Linked DNA regions of Homo sapiens: region 1 is linked to region 2. The links are contacts of gene promoters, found by promoter capture Hi-C in human tissues and cell types (Jung and others, 2019). All regions are on one chromosome and are shown on one strand. Each heading gives the region's core, a stretch centred on a gene start or on the middle of the fragment in contact. The rest is flanking DNA. Distances are from core to core; before and after follow the strand shown.

Region 1 (2,880 bases), core at 330-2,829, 570 kb before region 2:
GCACACACCAGGCAGCACAGAATAGGGGCAATGGCGGGCTTACTTTCACAGCTTGGTGAAGAGGATTAAGTGAGTTAGTATTTGTGAAGCACCTACTTGGAGATATATAAGGGTTGGATAAAGAAAATTAATGGGTGAAGTAACTAGGATTTCAGATTTAAGTAGCATAGGTCTATAAAGACCAAATTTTGAACTCCTAAGTATAGTTGACTTTACATACATAAATATGAAAAAGGGGAAATAAGAAAAGATATATAAATTGTCAAATATCTTAATTCCTTTACTTGGTCCTTCCAACCACCCTCCAATTACATTGGAAGTGGCAAGCACTAAATTCAGCTAACGTTAATTTTTAAAGGACTTTACTTAAGTAGTTTCCCAAATCTTTTAAGGTTTGATATTTTATTTGGCCCAACCCCAAGAGGCAGGACTTGTCATTTCCGTTTCACAGCTGGGAAATTGCTTAAGGTTGAGCTGAGGAAGGATGAGGCCAGAACTCGATACCATGCCTTCTGACACCAAGTTTTTTTGTTTTTGTTTTTGTTTTTGTTTTTTTTGAGACAGAGTCTCGCTTTGTCACCCAGGCTGGAGTGCAGTGGCGCGATCTCCGCTCACTGCAACCTCCGCCTCCCGGGTTCATGCCATTCTCCTGCCTCAGCCTCCCAAGTAGCTGGGACTACAGGCGCCCGCCACTGTGCCTGGCTAATTTTTTTGGTACTTTTAGCAGAGCTGGGGTTTCACTGTGTTAGCCAGGATGGTCTCGATCTCCTGACCTTGTGATCCGCCCACCTCAGCCTCCCAAAGTGTTGGGATTCCAGGCGTGAGCCACCGCGCCCAGCCGACACCAAGTTTTAACACCCAATCCTCTGCTCTTTCCTGTGAGTCCTGCAGCAGCTCCCTGGTGCCACCTGATTCTAAGAAAAGCTGATAACAGGAGACTAAGGAAAATTCTGGAGCCTTGACCCCAGGCAAGAAGTCATGCTCAATCCTGCAGCTCAGCCATCAATAAAGAATTCAAGTCACATAGGCACGTGCAGCCCTGAATGAACAGTGCATAAACAGCAGGCCCTTACATTTCAACATCGGTGGCTTCTTCCCACAGCAAACACAGACCACAGTGAAATGTTAGCCCAGCTTAGGAAGAACGGTGCATGAAACCCCCAGAAGGTCAAAGTTATGAAAGACACAGACCAGGTCTGGAAACCATTCTCTATAACGGATAGAGGAAAATAGGAAAAATAATAATACCCTATAAAATCAACTTTTGGTTTTGAACATAGAATGAGAACTTATTCCCAAACCACTTTTCTTTTTCTTTTTTTCTTTTTTTTGACACGGAGTCTCACTCTGTGGCCCAGACTGGAGTGCAGTGGCTTGATCTCGGCTAACTGCAACCTCCGAAAGTGATTCTCCCGCCTCAGCCTCCCAAGTAGCTGGGATTGCAGGCACCTGCCACCACCCCCAGCTAATTTTTTGTATTTTTAGTAGAGATGGGGTTTCACTATGTTGGCCATGCTGGTCTCAAACTCTTGACCTCAGGTGATCCACCTGCCTCGGCCTCCTAGAGTGCTGGGATTACAGGCATGAGCCACTGCGCCTGGCCAAAACAAAAATTAAAAAAAAACAAATAAAAATACAACAATTAGCTGGGTGTGGTGGCAGGCACCTGTAATCCCAGCTACTTGGGAAGCTGAGACAGGAGAATCACTTGAACCCAGGAGGCAGAGGTTGCAGTGGGCAGAGATCACCCCACTGCACTCCAGCCTGGGCAACAAGAGTGAAACTCCATCTCAAAAAAAAAAAAAATTAACAAATGGGAGGGAGGGAACAAATCTCCCACGCAGAATAATTCCAAATAATTTATGTAGATACTGCACCCTCAAGCAGGTGGTGAATACGTCCCTACCCCCAGGTGTGGGCTATGCATAGTGACTTCCTGCCAAAGAGCACAGCGTGGGAGGAGGAGAAAGAGCAACGTCACAGCAGAGGAACCTGGAAACACTGCCCAGCCAGGTGATCAAGGTCAACTTCAGCAGTGGAAAGTCCTGGCTGTGCACAGTGGCTCACGCCTGGAATCCCAGCACTTTGGGAGGCTGAGGTGGGAGCACTGCTTGAGCCCAGGAGTTTGAGACCAGCCCGGGCAATAGGTGGGACCCAAAGAAAAGTCCTGATGACAGTATATCCAGTACGTGCCCTTGATATGACATGATAGAAATGGCACTTTACTTCTGTGGTCCTCCTCTGAACAAAACCCGTAACCTCAGTCTAATTAGGAGAAAAACATCAGATAAATCTCATGATGTTCTACAAAATACCTGACCAGTATCCCTCAACATTGTCAAAGTCATCAAAAACAGGGAAGTCTGAGAAACTGTCACGGCCAAAAGGAGCCTGAGGAAACAAGGGGACTCGATGTCATACAGGATCCTGAAGCCAAAACAAGACATGACGGAAAAGCTAAGGCAGGGCGCCAGGGCTCACACCTGTGATCCCAGCACTTTGGGAGGCCAAGGTGGGAAGATCACTTCATGTCAGGAGTTCGAGACCAGCCTGGCCAACATGAGAACCCCGTCTGTACAAACGAATTTTAAAAATTAGCCGGGCATGATGGTTCATGCTTGTAGTCCCAGCTACTCGGGAGGCTGAGGCAAGAAGATCACTTAAGCCCAGGAAGTAAAGGCTGCAGTGAGCTGTGATCATACTACTGCATTCCACAGCGAGACCTTGTCTCCAAACAAACAAAAAGGTGAAAATATAAAGATCTTAAATGTTTATGGGTAAGCTTCAGTTATCCAAGTTCAAATATGTGTAAAACCTGATTTCCTGTGCCTAGCAAAGAAATAAGGTGGTGTTATCTTCACATCTGGTGGCCAGTATGGT
Region 2 (3,109 bases), core at 36-2,535:
GCCCAGGCTGGAGCACAGTGGCGTGATCTCCGATCACCACAACCTCCGCCTTCCAGGTTCAAACGATTCTCCTGCCTTAGCCTCCCAAGTAGCTGGGATTACAGGCATGTGCCACCATGCCTATCTAATTTTGTATTTTTAGTAGAGATGGGGTTTCTCCATGTTGGTCAGGCTGGTCTCGAACTCCCGACCTCAGGTGATCTGCCCGCCTTGGCCTCCCAAAGTGCTGCGGTTACAGGCGTGAGCCACCGTGCCCCGCCAACACCCACTCTTTATGATCTACCTGTCGGCCATGTATCCATTTATGCCATTATCCATCCACCACTCCCTGATTACCATCCATTCCTTTTCCTTTTTTTTTTTTTTTTTTTGAGACGGAGTCTCGCTCTGTCGCTCAGGCTGGAGTGCAGCGCACGATCGTGGCTCACTGCAAGCTCCACCTCCTGGGTTCACGCCGTTCTGCCTCAGCCCCCCAAGTAGCTGGGACTACAGGCGCCTTCTACCATGCCCGGTTAATTTTTTTGTATATTTTTAGTATAGACGGGGTTTCACCGCGTTAGCCAGGATGGTCTTGATCTCCTGACCTCGCGATCCGCCTGCCTCACCCTCCCAAAGTGCTGGGATTACAGGCATGAGCCACCACGCCCGGCCATTCATTCATTTTTCACTCACCATCCTCATCCATCCATTCATCACCCATCCACCCTCTATCACTCACCATCCACCCCGTCAACCATTTACCATTCATCTGCCATGCGTCCATATGCCGTACACCATGCACCATCAATGTTGCTGTCCATCAGCTGTCCCCTACTCACCATCCACTACTCTCCACCATCATCCACAATCCACCCTCCTATACCATCCACATACCATGTTCCATCCAGGATCTTCCTTCTATCATCCAACCACCACCCACAGCCCATGGGACAGGGGCACTGCGTGGAGAAGTGGACACCCAGTTCCAATGGTGAGCAGACTAGCTCAGCCCTAGCAGCACACAGGACAGAGAAAGGGGTGAATTCAAAGGTCGTTTATTCCCCCTCCCGGCAAGACACCCATTTTACAGGGTAGGTCAGTCTCGCCAAGCCCTTCTTCTTTGCCCTTCTTCCTGAGAACCTAAGGTGTTCAGGCCCTGCAGGGGCGGGTAAGGGGAGGCTGAGAAGGTGCCTCCCAGGGGCCTGAAGAGTCGGCCCTGGGCGGGTCTGGAGGTAAATGTGTAACCGACCCTGGTGCCCCCACCCGACCTGCCTGGTCACGTGGGTCCAGTGGGGCAAAGTCTCCTGGTGGGGTGCAAGGAGCCGAGGCGAGATGGGCGTCCTGGGCCGGGTCCTGCTGTGGCTGCAGCTCTGCGGTGAGCCGGGACCACACCGGTGCGGGCCCGGACGGTAGCGGTCTGTCAGGACCCAGGGCCGAGGTCGCTCTAGGCCTGGAGGGTGAAGATCTTCCGAGGAGTGGGCAGGGAGGGCTTTGGAGGGTTGGGGGCGTGAAACTCGGCCCTGCCTCCCTCGTCTGGCGAGTGCGCAGCCCGGAAGTGCGCGGCCAGTGCATCGGGCGGTGCGGGAGAGGAGAGGAGGGGCTCCGGGAACCTCGGCCAGCCCCGGCCTCCGGCGGCTCCTGCCCTCGCGGTTTTTCCGTCTGCGAAATGGGCGCGGTCCCCAGAACCTGCCGAGAGCAGCGAGTGTGCGCCTGCGGGGCTCGGCAGACCGCCTCAGCTTCCCGGTCCCCAAGGGAGCACTGAGCCCTCCTCCGCCTTCACACCAGGCCGGCGCGTGTCCCTGGCGCCCCCTTCCCTAAACCCCTCGCGGCTCCCTCAGGACAACCCCACCCACCACATTCAGGGCCGGCCTGACCTGGTCCTGCCGCCCCCAGCCCCTTCTTACTTCTCATACCGGGTTGCGCTCTGTCGCAGCTCTTCCCGGCCCAGGTAGGACTCCTCCGGGAAGCCTTCCTGATTCCAAGGCCGAGAAGAGGTCTGTGCTGCCCCATCCTCCTCCATGCCCCAGTTGTCACTGTCCTTAACAACGCTGTCCTCTGCTCCAGCGCCAGGCAAACTGGGGGCAGTGCCGGGAGGCTATCTAGGCAGGCGTCCTGCAGGGCGCGTTTGAGCGGGCTCTGCAGGTATCAGTAGAAGTCCGTTGGAGAGCGCCCGGGCAGGGCGCCCACAGTCTGGCCGGGAGGGACCAGGGTCTGGGTCCGGGCCCCCGGGGATGGGGTTCCTATGCGTCCCGGGTGATCCGCGCGGACCTTCCGCACTTCTCTGGGTGGGTGGCCTTCCCTGAGAAGGGAGCATCCCGGAGAGCATCCCGGGCACTCAGTCGCCTCCTCCCCAGCACTGACCCAGGCGGTCTCCAAACTCTGGGTCCCCAACACGGACTTCGACGTCGCAGCCAACTGGAGCCAGAACCGGACCCCGTGCGCCGGCGGCGCCGTTGAGTTCCCGGCGGACAAGGTGCCTGGGAGCGCCGGCGGGGTCGGTGATGGGCCTGGACCCCTGAGACCGTGTGGCCCCGGTGGGGGTTGCTCCCGGCTCGGCTGAGGCAGCTTCTTCCTGCAGATGGTGTCAGTCCTGGTGCAAGAAGGTCACGCCGTCTCAGACATGGTAAGGCCGGGCTGCTACTGCCACTGGGCTGGGGGTTCACAGAGTCTCTGAAGCGCCTTCAGGGACTGCTGTGCCTTGAGGGCGGACCCCACCGGCATGGAGGCACTGCAGGACTGGGACTTTGGCCTCTGGAGAATATTCTAGGAGGCAGGGAGTGGGGGGGAACCTAGGGGAGCTTGGTCCCATGGTCCCAGCCAGGCTGTGTCCTGGGAGGGATGGGAGGCACCCCTGTCCCCACAGCCCTTGTGATGCCCAGCAGTGGGTGGTCTTCCCAGGAAGCGCCTGCTCCATGCCCTTCCCCCAAAGCCTTGCCTTGTCCTGGTGCCTAAAGCTCCATCTTTAGAACACTAGGGAAAGTGTCCCCAACACCCCCCCCTCTACCCACCATCCGGGTCCCTGGCCTGTTAGGAAGTGGCCGCCCAGGAAGAGGCGAGCCCACTCCTGCCTGGCTCTGCCTCCCTTCAGATCAGATCAGATTCTCCTAGGGACCCCTATTGTCACTGCGCC

What was found. The method cuts DNA at HindIII sites, captures the fragments that hold promoters and counts their contacts. A contact is called where the count stands out against the background at its distance.
Region 1: a fragment that was not itself captured here is called in contact with the fragment with the promoter of AMN in region 2 in 2 of the 25 tissues and cell types used here (dorsolateral prefrontal cortex and mesendoderm cells).

Annotation. Positions count from the first base shown.
Region 1 is chr14:102,351,346-102,354,225 of GRCh38, forward strand. The region is part of intron 3 of CINP (cyclin dependent kinase 2 interacting protein); the gene reads right to left. Among named protein-coding and RNA genes, the nearest start is that of CINP, 10 kb to the right of the region's middle. The HindIII fragment of the contact is 9,147 bases long and covers 1-2,880 here.
Region 2 is chr14:102,921,378-102,924,486 of GRCh38, forward strand. AMN (amnion associated transmembrane protein) reads left to right here and starts at 1,286. Exons shown (of 12, transcript NM_030943.4): 1 at 1,286-1,354; 2 at 2,334-2,452; 3 at 2,558-2,602. The coding sequence starts at 1,312. RefSeq lists silencers at 1,510-1,709, 2,873-3,071. The HindIII fragment of the contact is 38,072 bases long and covers 1-3,109 here.